Linked DNA regions of Homo sapiens: regions 2 and 3 are each linked to region 1. Evidence: promoter capture Hi-C in 16 types of primary human blood cells and fetal thymus (Javierre and others, 2016). All regions are on one chromosome and are shown on one strand. The core of a region is centred on a gene start or on the middle of the fragment in contact, and the rest is flanking DNA. Distances in the headings are between cores, read along the strand shown. Region 1 holds the start of RLIM (ring finger protein, LIM domain interacting). Region 2 holds the start of PJA1 (praja ring finger ubiquitin ligase 1). Region 3 overlaps HMGN5 (high mobility group nucleosome binding domain 5).

Region 1 (4,572 bases), core at 388-2,887:
CAGAACATCATGGACTAAAAAAATCTTTGTAACATTTTTCAGTAAGTGGAGTGTGTCCTAAAATCAAGTTTTAAAAAGTGGATTGGTCTTTCTAGCTACCTAAGCTATATTTCTACAGTTTAGAAAAGTCATGGGGGGGGAGGGGTTATAATTGTGCCAGTCCTCCAGGGAAGATACAATGTACTTAATGGGGTGATAAGTAGTTACTCTGTCTATAATCACGAAGAATGAAAGAAATGATTAGTAGCAGTAGGTTTATTATTTCTTCCCCCTTTCAATCAGTCCAAAACACTGCGGTTAATTCTGATTCAGGAAATGCGGGCTCCTTACTTCTGGCAAAAAATCATTGTGGGGTCTTGCAAATGGAAGATGACAATCTGATACAACTGCTTCCTCTTGCCCCAAAATGAAAAAAAAAATGACCTCAATAACAAGACTGCTAGGCCTCAGATTCCCAGACTAACCTGTGGAATAAGTATGGTGAAACTGTCTAGGGAAGGAACGTGGCTGTCTCCTCCATCTTGAAATTAATCAGCATAAGGGAAAAAGGGACCGAGTATTCAGGAAGCAGAAGCCCAACCGGTTAATACTAGTTACTAAGCTATGGCATGCGTGGCAGGTACCGTCTGCAGAAGCAGAGACCCCCCTAGGCTTTTTTTTTTTTTTTTAATGGGGGAGGGATTGAGTTGTTGGTGGATTAAACACAAATTAACTTGAAAATTTGGCCCAATTCCATCCCTTATCCAGGAGAACACAACAAACACCTAACGGCTTTTCCCTCTCTTTTGCGGGGGGATCCTTCCAGTGATACCTGGCAAAGGATATGCCAGGGTTATTCGAGCAAGGGAGTAAACCACATTTGCCTCAGATCCTCAGGGAAGATGTCATCGCGGCCCCAGGGGGCGCCTAATTGGTAATACCCTGCAGAAGGGCTCAAAATGAGGTTTTGGAAATCTAAAGGCCCAAGAGTTGCCAGCATCTCACTTGGGGCAGCCTGATTTTTTACTTCCCTTTTCCCAAACCCAAGCCCGCCATGGAAAACGCGGGGAGGTCAGGGAAGCCTCCAGAGAACAGAGAAGAAAAAGCCTGAGACGTTCTAAGATTCTGACGCCTGAGGCCAAAACTCAAAAACTGCCTCCCCCGATTTCCTAAGGCTCCGGAGGGCCTGGGCTGCAGCTCGCGCGGCCACCGAGAGGAAGTACTACCCACCTCCTTCCCCTTCAAAGAGCCTGTCGACTATACCACTCAACTAAAATGGCAGCGGCGACTACGCCACGGAGCCCCCCGCAGCAACGGGCCTGGGGTCCGGAGGCGGCGCTGAGCCTCTGCCACGACGCGTCACTCGGGCCATTTTGAGAGAACGCGGCAGCCGCGGCTCCGCTGTCTTCCTCTCGCTCTACATCATTTCTCACAGGATTCCCAAGTCTTCACTTACTAGGTTTTAGGGTCAGGATCCGACTCGGTTGGTTCGGCCGCCGCCGCCGAGGCTGCTCCGCACCTCCCTGGCCGCCGCTCTCAAGCCCGCCTCCAATGAGTAGCTGGTTGAGACCCGCCTCTAGCCCAGCGCCTGCTCGGAGACGTTGCTCAGGCAGCCATTATCTTCCCCATTGTTACCAAGCAGCGACAGGAAACGACTGCCCACAACAGGAAGTGATGATGCCGCGTCCCGGCACCGCAGCCCCACTCCCAGCCTATTAGCCAATCCCAGTCGATTCCTCGAAAAGGCTCCGCGGGAGGAGGAGGGGGACGGCAGACGACGCGGCAAGGCGGGCGGCGGTTTGGAAAAGGAAAGCTGTTATGACGCCCACCATGTGACAGGCCCCACCCTCCTCCGCCATTTTGAATTGTGGCGAGAAATTTGCGTTCTGAGAATTGTGGGAACCTTCGCTTTCCCATTTTGAAAACTGAAGGACGTCACGGTCTGACTGCTTGAAGACATTTTCAGAGAGAGAGAAATGTGATATTAGTCTACCCTGACATCACATCAGTTCACACAATCCGTGCAGACCAGTTCAAAAAGTAGCCTGCGTTTTATTCAACATGTATTTACACAGTGCCAACTGCATGTCAAGCACCATTGTAGCTGCTTAGGAAATTAAAATAGACCAAAATTAAGAAAGAAAACAGGCCACGTTCGGTGGCTCACGCCTGTAATCCCAGCACTTTGGGAAGCCGAAGCGGGCGGATCACCTGAGGTCAGGAGTTCGAGACCAGCCTGGCCAACATGGTGAAACCCAGTCTCTACTAAAAATACGAAAATTAGCCGGGCGTGGTGGCGGGCGCCTGTAATCTCTGCTAATCGGGAGGCTGAGGCAGGAGAATAGCTGAACCCAGGAGGCGAAGATTGCAGTGAGCCGGGATCTCGCCACTGCACTCTAGCCTGGGTGACAGAGCAAGGCTGTGTCTCAAAAAAAAAAAAAAAAAAAAAAAGAAAACAGATCAAAATCCCAGTTCTCTTGAGTCTTTATAGGGGCCAGGGACAATAATTTAGAAAAAATCAAACATAAATACATATCATGTTAGTGATAAATGCCAAGGAGAAAAATCAAGGAAGGGGGACAGAAGAGTTCCTTGTAGGGACAAACGGATTCGTGATGTTTAAAAGACTGATAACTTTGAGGCATTAACTCTAAAGTATTCGAAAAAGGGCGGTGATTGTAAAAGGGTGGGAAAATCTGATAACGTTGGGATTTGTAAAAGGGCAGTTAAAGAAGGCCTTTCTTAGGTAGTAATGCCTGAAAGAATTGAGGGAACTCGCCACACAGCATGCCACTCCCATTGTCACAGTTAAAGGAAAACCTTACCCAAGTTTTTAGATTCTTTTCCTTTTCCCAATTTTTCTGTTTTCCAATAGCATGCCAGCTATGCTGGCTTTGTTACGGTTTTTCCAACAAAGCTAACTTCTTCCTACTTCAACTACTTTACCTTTGCTGGAATATTTTACTTTCATATCTTTGCTTTCATCATCCAAGCCTCGCAATTATTAACTTCCTAGAGAAGCCTTCCCTGACCACCCTACCTAAAATAACTTCTTCCTGAAGGCGGAAAAAGGTCTGAGGAAAAAAAAAAAAAGAAAAAAGTAATAACGACTTCTCCCATCTCCTTACCTGCTTACTTTTCTTGTAAAACACTTAATCTGAAAGTAAGTTATTTATTTGTTTGTTTACTTCACCCTTTCTGAGCAGTAAACCTCTCTGTTTTGTTCACTGTTGTGTCCCCAGCGACCACATAGTAAGCCCTCAAAATACTTTGGGAGAATTACCCCCTCACCATGATGGATGTTATATCAGCCTGGAATATAAGTATTTCACTCCAAGCAGTTAAAACAATATCCCTCATACTTACCTGCCCAACTCCCTAGAAGACTCATTGATATTGTCATTTTTGGCAGAGGGATACATGATTTAGGCGCTGTGTCTCTACTCAGGTTTTTGTCTTATTTTACATAATCATGTACTAGAACGATTACCTAGAACGTGTAAAAGGAATTCTTCAGTAGCCTGCAATTGCCATTAAGCCTGATATTCTGATTATGGCAATAACATTAGCCACTCCTTAACGTATTCTTGAGGCTTATGTGGCTTAATCTAAAATATAAAATCATAAAAGAAGTGGAAGAAAATACAGGTTACTATTTCTGTCCTTTCTTCCTTCCTTCCTTCCTTCCTTCCTTCCTTCCTTCCTTCCTTCCTTCCTTCTTTCTTTCTTTTTTTTTTTTGATGGAGTCTTGCTTTGTTGCCCAGGCTGGAGTCCAGTGGCATGATCTCAGCTCACTGCAACCTCCGTCTCCTGGGTTCAAGCGATTCTCCTACCTCAGCCTCCCCAGTAGCTGGGATTGCAGGCATGCACCACCACGCCTGGCTAATTTTTGTATTTTTAGTAGAGATGAGGTTTCACCATGTTGGGCAGCCTGGTCTCCAACTCCTGACTTCATGATCCGCCTGCCTGGGCCTCCCAAAGTGTTGGGATTACAGGCGTGAGCCACTGTCCAGGCCTAGGTTAATATTTCTATAGCCTTGGGGATGCAGAAGCACTTTTGAAATACAACACAAAATCCATAATGGGAAAGACTAATAAGTACAACTTCATAAATAAAAGTAAACCTTCTAAATGTCAAAATACAAGGTTGGTAAAGTTAAAAGACAAATGATAAATTGAAAAAAATCATTTCATAATGACATATTAGAGCCAAGGGGTAATATCTTTACTTAATAAAAAGACGAAACACTAGCAAAAATGTTACATATGTGATAAACACATATGGCTAATATCAGCCTATAAAGAGTTGTTAAACATTGATTTTTAAAAAGATAAATACCGGCCGGGCGCAGGGGCTCACACCTGTAATCCCAGCACTTTGGGAGGCCAAGGCAGGCGGATCACAAGGTCAGGAGATCAAGACCAGCCTGGCCAATATGGTGAAACCCCGTCTCTACTAAAAAAAATACAAAAATTAGCTGGGCGTGGTGGCGTACTCACTCCTGTAGTCCCAGCTACTTGGGAGGCTGAGGAAAAGGAATTGATTGAACCCGGGAGGCAGAGGTTGGAGTGAGCCGAGATCATGCCACTGCA
Region 2 (4,432 bases), core at 631-3,130, 5.4 Mb before region 1:
GGAAGGTGGGTGAAGTACTGTGGAATTGTGCAACGTGGGGAAAGGAAAGACTGCTATAGTTTTTTTTATGGGGTGTCTGCATTTTTCTGAGTGCTGCAGACATACAGGAGAAATGCAAATTGGAATAGAGTGGAAAATACAGATCGCCGTGTGTGCACGAGTGCCTATGTGTCTGTCTATCAAGAGGAGAGGGACAGGTGGAAGGGGACCAGTAATCCTGCAACAGAGGGATGTTTACGTTTGTAGGGGGAAAGGGTATGAGTGTTAGAATGAGACCCATTCTGGATGTGGGTATGAAAATGACAGGCATGGGTGGGGTGGCTTTGGAGGAGAGGGGTGCGTGTATGTATGAGGAAAGGGAAGGTGTTTGTGTGTGTAGCTGTATGTGAGGCAGCTGAAACTACAGAAGGATGCCCATGTTTATGCGTATGTCACAGGCAGAGGAGTGTATGGTTGGCAATGGAGAGGAGTGTCTGAGAGTTTGTGTGTGTGTATGTTAGTCAAAATGGGAGGCAACAATGGAGAAATGTCAGTGTGAGCAAATGCAGCAGGCACAAATGGAAGCGGGGGTGGGGGGTGCGCAGCACTGGAGAGGGATGTGCTTGAGGTGGATGGAACAGAGGCAGGCAATCAAAGAATGATGCCTGCCTGTGTGGATATGGCAAGCAGGGAGGCAGGTTGTGTCCCCGTAGAAGGATTTATGTGAGTGCGAGTGTGTGCACCTCAGGGACCAGCAAAAGAGAGCTGTGTCTGACACACGTGGCAGACAGAGCAATAGAGGAGAGCATTTGAGAAGGGGGTATGAATGAGCACATGTGGCTACATATGTATGTCACTGGCCAGCGATAGAAGGATGTCCTTATGTGTGTATATGACAGGAAGGAAGAAGGAGGGCAGCCGGAGGGGGTGTGTGAATAGGCATGTGTTCGCGAGAGCACGCAGAGGCCGAGCAGGGAGGGGGCCGGTGCTAGAGGTGTGTATGTGGTAGGCGGATAGAGGAGGGGGAAGGCATGGGAGGGTGTGAGGGTGTGAGGGTGTGTGAGAGGGTGTGTGCTGCGTGTGCCTGCGCATGCGCGGGGGAGGGGAAGCACTGGAACCTTGAGGATGGAGGGGCAAGGAGGGGGCTGCAATGGAAGGCTTCTGTGCGGGGGCGCGTGCTCGCGACACACGGGGGGTGGGGGGTAGGGGGGACGCAATGTCATAAAAAGAGGTGGGAAAAGGCCATCAGCTCAAACGGGAGACCCCAACCGATGTGGCAGGGGAGAGGGAAAATGAAAGAAAAGGGCGTGCGTGGGTCTAGTTTTCCCTGAGAATAATTATTTTTTCCTTCCAATTTTTTCCCTGGGAACAGTATTTTTACCTAAAAATCTTAACCATTTACCATTTGGCAAAACAACAGCAAAATATGGGAAGAAAGGCCACGGAGTGCTCCGCAAAGGGGCCGAGGAGGGAAGAAGGAAGGAGAGGGGAGGAGAGGCAGGGAGAAGTGGGAGAGGGCCGCGACCACCACTGCCCTCCCAATAGCGATGAAAGCCACTCGAGTGGGGACCGCGCCACACCAAAGGGGTTCCGGCAGCGGAAGATGTGGCCCCAGAACAGGCCGATGGAGGACATGGGCCTCACTCTGCAGTCAGGTCCCGCGTCCGCCCCACCCCTTCCCGAGGGGCGAACCTGAAAAGCAGTTCCCAGGAACCCCCCAAAATCCTCGCCCCCGTGCCCGGCCACTCGCCCCGCGCCCGGCCACTCGCGCCACCGCCAGCGCCCGGATGAATCGAGGAAACAATCAGCCTTTCACTCACCAAGTCCAGAAAGCCACACGCTTTTCAGAGAAGCAGAGCTCTCGGATCTCCGACCGCCACGACCGCCAGAGCCGCTGCTCCCGGTCCCGAGCTCCTCCCCCGCCAGACAGCAGCGGGGCGGGCGGCGACTGCGGCGGCGGAAGTGATTGTGAAGTCAGCTGGAGCCCGCCTCCTTGATGTGGCGGGGGCGGCAGCTGCTCTCCACAAATCAGGGTGGGCCCGAAAGCATTATTTCATCTTAAATGATGAAATCGTCAAGGATACAGAAAAGGACAGCGAAAAATGTCACAAACACCCAGCTTTAACTAATGTTAAACATTTAGCTATATTGCCTTCTGGTTTTTTAATAAATAAAATAAAATCTGCAAATTCTTTCTGATTAAGTCCAATGTGAGAGTAATTACGTTACTACATCACATCCTATGTTACGTGTTATGGTTGTACCGAAAGTATTAAAACTGTGAAACCATATTTAGGGTTGCAGTAAGCTTAAATTTTTTTTAACCTGATGGTTAAAGCAAATTGAAGCTGTTTATGTTGAATTTGTTGCTGCTAATCACAAAACCAAGCTTCTCTGTCCAAGAGATCATAGGACACAACACAGGTTCATATTCTGTTATTGCATTGCAGTTAAAAATATTGTAGTTACGCCTTTTGGATTTATACCATTTTACTGAATTCTGAAGTCTTTAAATTGCGCTTTATAATGGAACTCTAGTATTTACAGCCAATGTAAACATTTCCCATGTTCACAACAGTAGCAAAGTTTTGTTCTTACTGGAAACAAAATGCATAATAGAACAAAAATCTTAGGGGTAACAACATAATAGAAATAAAATGTATAACTTTCAAACCATTAAAGTAATAATATGTGGAACAAAGAGAAAAACTCATTCTTAACAAAGGTCAAGAAATGTTGCTGGGGGGGTACAAAAAAAAGGATGCAAAAAGAAAACAAAAATGCAGGAATCCAAATATATCAGCATGCATTATGGGTTAACATCTCCTAATAAAAACCAAACTCTTATTTTGAGCATTTTGTTTTTAAAAGCTAAGTTATATTCTATTTATGTGAGTTTCACCTAAAGCAGAAATAGGAATAAAAAATATATGAGAGTAAAATACTAGCAGAAAAAAGGGAGAGAGGGAATGAGGGAAGGAAAGAAGCAAAAAAAAAAAAAAGGAAGGAAAGGAAGGAGGAAACAAACTCGTAACAATATCAATATCCTAAACATCGAGAACTCAAAGTAAAAAGAACTAAAGAGAACAAAACAGGTTGCTTTATTCACTGAGAAAGATATGACAAGCTGGTGGTGTGTGCCTGTAGTCCCAACTACTTAGGAGGCTGAAGCAGGAGGATTGTGTGAGCCCAGGAGGTTGAGGCTGAAGTGAGTGAAGATCACGCCACTGCACTCCAGCCTGGACAACCAAGCAAGATGCCATCTCAAAATGATGATGATAATAATAACAATAATAGAACTTCATTGGTGAGAAATCTGAAACTATCAAATTTTTTAATGGAGATACATTTTCATCTAGCAATTCTACTTCTAGTCAATTGCTCTATTGTGTGTTCTATTGAGACACACAAATGGAGAAAGATATGTGAATAGGAGTGTAGCAAGATAATGCAAACAACTTTAATTCTCCTCAACAAATAAATTGTTTAAATTTATTTAAACATGTTGCATGGTGGCTCATGTACAGACATGGTGGTTGACACCTGTAATCGCAGCACTTTGGGAGACCAAGGCAGGAGGATTGCTTGAGCCCAGGAGTTGAGACCAGCCTGGACAATATGGTGAAACCCCATCTCTACAAAAAAAACGTAAAAATTTCCCTGGCGCAATGGTACGTGCCTGTAGTCCCAGCTACTTGGGAGGCTGAGGTGGGAGAATCACTTGAGCCCAGGAGGTTGAGGCTGCAGTGAGCCAAGATTGCGCCACTGTGATCCAGCCTGGGCAATAGTCAGACCCTGTCTCAAAAAAAAAAAAAAAAAAAAGAAAGAAAGAAAGAAGGCAAGTATATATGTATATATGTACTGGTCTAATATAAATATATTAAGTGAAAAAAGCATGTTGCAGAACAGTGCATTTTAAAAAAAAACATATGATAGTCACAAAAATTTATGTGCCAAACAATGTAGTTTCAAAATATATAAAGCAAATACTGTTAGAAATATAAAGAGAGATCAGGAAGTCTGCAATTATAGTGGGAAACTTCACCTCATTTCTTATGGTATAGATAAATCAAATAGACTGCAAAATAAATAACGATATGAGGAAATGGGACAGTACAATATACCGAATGTATATGTATTTTTGTTTTTTTGAGACAGAGTCTTGCTCTGTCATCCAGGCTGGAGTACAGTGGTAAAATCTTGGCTCACTGCAACCTCCACCTCCCGAGTTCAAGCAATCTCCTGCCTCAGCCTCCTGAGTTGCTGGGACTGCAGGTGTGCACCACCACACCCAGCTAGTTTTTGTATTTTTTAGTGGAAATGGGGTTTCACCATGTTGACCAGGCTGGTCTCGAATTCCTGATCTCAAGCAATCCACCTGCATCGGTATCCCAAAGTGCTGGAGTTACAAGCGTGAGCCACTGTGCCCAGCTTGTATATGTATTTTTGGACT
Region 3 (4,670 bases), core at 318-2,817, 6.5 Mb after region 1:
CCAAAGGAGAATGTCTCCATAGCGTCACTCTAGTCCCAGCCATATTTAGGTGACTTTCGACTGTAAGAGAGGCTTATAGGTGCCTTTCAGTGTCAGTTTCTGAGACCTAAAGTTTTCAGGGTTGAGGTGGAGATTGATGAATAAATTACTTGGGAATAAATATGATTAAAATAGAGGATCTAATTCCCCACCGCCCTTTCTCAGAGGCGCCTTGATGTGGTTGTTGTAAGAGCTACCTGTGTATAAAAGTGCTCCCAAACAACAACCCAAATCCTTATCCTGGAGGGTTAATCAAAAAAGAAATTTAACCTTTTGAACAGTTACTTTAGGAAGAATTCATTTGTGTTTATGTAGGTTAAAAAATTTGGAATAATCAGTTTAAGAGATAAACACTGTATCTGCTACAGAGTGCCAAACCATCCCTTCAAGCAAAAATACAGCCTAACAGAATAACCCATTGTAATTATTATATTTACTATTGCTATATTATTTTTATTTTGTTATATATTTATATCATTATTATTATTATTATTGCCCATTCTTCCCCAGCACTGATAGTATGGAATTACATAGATCAGGTAGAATGAGCCTGCGTGACTGCTGCTCAGTTTCCTTCCCCCAACTTCATACTGCATTCTAATTCAAGTAAGTAAATCAGAAAGATATTTAAATTGCTTCCTTCGTCCACAGTTATTGGGATAATCCCTAGATGTTCCTGATGTCACTTTTTGCCCTTATGGTAAAAGCATTCCTGGGTGAACTTAAATATGTTTCAATCATTTTATTCTCCAACAGTTAGAAGATAAGCATAAAAATTGATTTTAATATAAGGATTGCCTCATAAGGATAAGAAGAAAAATGAAGGGAATGAAAATGTGTCAGCAGTGGAATGCATCCATTCAACAAATTCTTATTTAGCATTATTTTGTGAGTCGGATTTTGTTTTTGTAGACTAGCTTATGAAAATGCGAAACCCTGTAGCATGCAAAGTTGCATTACACAGCTTCTGTCTTTAAGGAATTTTATAATTTTGTAGGATTGAGCAAACAGATGCATACCTATTTACAAATCAAAGCTGATTGTATTATCTGAATGGTGCAATCTAAATTCAATAATAAAACAGGAGGGAAGGATCTTTTAGGACTAAGGTAACTTGGCAAAGGGTTTGATTGAGGAAGTGGAATTTGGCTTGCCTGTGAACAGTTCGGTAGACTGTTACATTACAGCAAATGCAGCGGCAGGAAAAGGTTGTACTTGTTCAGGGAACATAGTGCCTAGTCCAAGTGGATTGAAACAAATTATCTTGAGGAGCCTTGGAAGGTAAAGCTTAGAGAAGCAAAGCATAATGTGCAGGTCAGTGAGCTCTAAAACTCCTCTTAAATTTGTCAGCAATTTTCTTTTTTGGCCAGTTTTTTCTTCTTGAAGGCTAACGTGTTGCAACTGTGATTTATATCTTATTAAATTGAAAAAATAGTCATGCATGCAAAAGAACATTTTCTAAGTGTGAAACATTCTTCTGTTTCTTGACCCCAATCCCCCATTTCCTCATGTTCTTCCTTCTAACCATTAACCAGAGCGGTCCTTTACATTAGCAAACCTGTTTAGGCTCTTTGCCTTTGCAGTATTATTACCTCTGACTGCAGCCCCATTCTCAAATATCTTCACCTATCAAATGTTTACCAAACTGTTTAGACCCAATCCAAATATCACCTCTTTGACAAAAGCCTTCTTCAATTATTTTAGCCCTAAGAAATTCTTCCCTGCTGTTATACTATACAATTTAGATTGTACTACTCATAGGACACAAGCAAGCTTGATTTTTCCTTTTTTTCCCAACCACTCCATCAAACTTCTTCAAATTGGGTCAAACTTGTATATACTTATTTCCTTTTGCCTAAATATTTACTCAGCACATCACACTCTACATACCTTCTGTAGAATTTACTACTTTTCCAATATATTTTTCTAAAATTGATAAATTATTCCAGAGTAAAAAGGTTATTTTTGTGTAATTGTCAAAGTGAGACTTTTTACTGGACTATTTTTTTCTAAGATTACGTTGGCTTGTTTCTCTTTTTAATTTATTAATGACTAGGAAAATTGATTGCCTGACAATTCTCCACAGAATTCCCTAATTTTACCTGGCTATTAAGCATGCCTACTACCACTCCCAAAATTTACAGGAACTGTAACGTGTCCATTTAGTAACCAGTTAAAAATGACACAGGAAGATATGAAAATTTATGGATTAAAGGCACCAACATTAAGATATATTGACAGAGAATCCAAAAGAAAATATTATGTATTTATGAGAAAAGGAATGCTAAACAGCCAAGATAAAACAGGTCTTCAAATGTTCTGTATATTCATAGTTTAAAATTATATATATATATGATTAATTAAAAGCATTCTAGATACACTACTTTGCATGCAATGGGATCTCAAAAATACTGATTGACTAGTAAGAAATACTTTATTTTCTCTGTTAAAATATCTCTAATTTTGACCTCATGCAACACCATTATTATTCCTGTTGTATTTTAATAAAATAAAAAATTGGAAAACTATATACTATTGTCAGCAAATAATGCAAGAATTCTATCATATTATTAGAATACAGTGTTTTAGATTTTTTTTGTTGGTATTTTCAGAGGGTAAAATAAATCCAAGTCTACAGTGAGCCAAATACATCAATACACTTATTTCTGAGCCTTGTTTAAGATTGATATCAGAAATTTATTTGAATTGATGATGCCACTTAGCTGAGACTGACTCTGGAAAAACTGTAATTCTGGTGACCCAAATCTTCCTATGTCCTATGTTTATTTGCAGCAGGCCAAAGACTAATAAAATACTGAATTAAAGAGTAGCCACTGATATGACAGATAGATTATTTTTCCAGTGGTAAAAGTAAATTGAGCTGCTTTCTAGGGGTAAAAGGAATATAATACATTTTATGTTTCTATTTGTAAAATTTCTACCGACTTTTAAAGTAACAATTTAAAAGAATGCTATTTTTAGGCTTTCAGACATTCAAGTTTAGCAGATACTAATAGAGATTTTCTAGTTTCAATACCCTTGGAATACAGATGAATAAACACAAGCCCAGAGAGCTTAAATGACTTGCGAAAGATCATCTATTAAAATTTAAGCAGTTGGCTGGGTGTGGTGGCTCGCGTCTGTAATCCCAGCTCTTTGGGACGCTGAGGCGGGTGGATCACCTGAGGTGAAGAGTTCGAGATCAACATGGCCAACATGGTGAAACCCCATCTCTACCAAAAATACAAAAATTAGCGGGGTGTGGTGGTGGATGCCTGTAATCTCAGCTACTTGGGAGGCTGCGGCAGGAGAATCGCTTGAACCTGGGAGGCAGAGGTTGCAATGAGCCGAGATCATGCCACTGCACTCCAGCCTGGGTGACAGAGCAAGACGCAGTCTCAAAAAAAAAAAAAAAAAAAAAAAATCAGGCAGTTTTTTTCACTTTTTTACTAAAAATTTTATCTACGGTTGTGATATCAGCAATTACACAGTTTATACAGAAATGTTAATGACTAAATGACACATTTGGTAAACACGAATTATGTTCCATCTCAATGACCTTAAAACTCAAGATGAAACTCTGGCTGTCAACCTACTTCAGATATATCTTTTTACTGATTCATTGGATCCTCACTCATCTATGATCTTAAACTTGTATTCTCTAGTCAGTTTTCTATACCTCAAGAAAGTAGAAAATTCAGAAGAGAAAAACTACTTTTTACCTTATTCCTTTATTTGTTTTTTGGTCTAAAGTAAGTCTGGTGAATGTGAGTTTTTAATCTTGAACGTCCAAATGCTTGCCCATGTTTTCTTCTTTCCCTTGCCAGCAAAGAGGTTTTCAGATAAAAATTGCGGATGAGATTCATTATTGGTTAAATGTTATTTGAAGATTTCTAACATCCAGTAGGTGTCATCATTTACTTGAAAAGAGTTTCAAACTTTCTTACTTTATAAGATTTCAGCTTCCCTTAAATTTATTTATATACATAGTTATTGTTTAAAATTAAAAGATTAATTGTATATATTAAGATGTACAACATGATGTTTTGATATACATATAATGAAATGATTACTACGGTCAAGCAAGTCAACATATTCAACAACAAAAAAATTATTGTTTTGTGGTAAGAGCACCTAATATCTACTCTCTTAGAAAATTTCTAGGGTATTTACTAAATCCTATCTATTGAACTTAATTTATACTTTTGGTATAGTTGATATCTATGTTTTTTTGCATGAAATAGACTTTTAAAATCTTAATATGATAGGAACGTTTAACCTTCATCCTCAACTTATAGAAGCACAGATATTAATTCATAGCTTTTAAAATATGGAAATGTAGATTGTGACACTTCTAAAGTTTTGCGGCTATTGTGGCACATTGAAAAAATGACATCTTTAGTTTAAAGCAATTATATTTTCACTTTGTTTATTTTAATTGGCCTTAATGTTCAGGCTTTTTCTCCTTAGAAAGTTCACTAATGCTGGTTACTCTTACAAAAAGAAATGAAACAAGAATTCAAGAACTGATAAATGCCCCAGGCTGCCTATATGAGACAAGAGCCTATTTTCAAGAATAGATCAGTTTTCGGTGTAGTCCAACTGTTCACTAGTGAGGGTTGATTAGAAAT

Evidence for each region. The method cuts DNA at HindIII sites, captures the fragments that hold promoters and counts their contacts. A CHiCAGO score of 5 or more calls a contact.
Region 2: a contact is called between the fragment with the promoter of PJA1 here and the fragment with the promoter of RLIM in region 1, in 1 of 17 cell types (total B cells). The highest score is 6.3, in total B cells.
Region 3: a fragment that was not itself captured here is called in contact with the fragment with the promoter of RLIM in region 1 in 1 of 17 cell types (fetal thymus); the score reaches 6.7 in fetal thymus.

What each region holds. Positions count from the first base shown.
Region 1 is chrX:74,612,987-74,617,558 of GRCh38, forward strand. It overlaps RLIM (ring finger protein, LIM domain interacting), which reads right to left and starts at 1,638. Exons shown (of 4, transcript NM_016120.4): 1 at 1,436-1,638. RefSeq lists an enhancer at 1,243-1,562. The HindIII fragment of the contact is 9,843 bases long and covers 1-4,572 here.
Region 2 is chrX:69,163,573-69,168,004 of GRCh38, forward strand. It overlaps PJA1 (praja ring finger ubiquitin ligase 1), which reads right to left and starts at 1,881. Exons shown (of 2, transcript NM_001032396.4): 1 at 1,800-1,881. The HindIII fragment of the contact is 4,972 bases long and covers 1-2,285 here.
Region 3 is chrX:81,122,709-81,127,378 of GRCh38, forward strand. The region is part of intron 1 of HMGN5 (high mobility group nucleosome binding domain 5); the gene reads right to left. Among named protein-coding and RNA genes, the nearest start is that of HMGN5, 77 kb to the right of the region's middle. The HindIII fragment of the contact is 486 bases long and covers 1,325-1,810 here.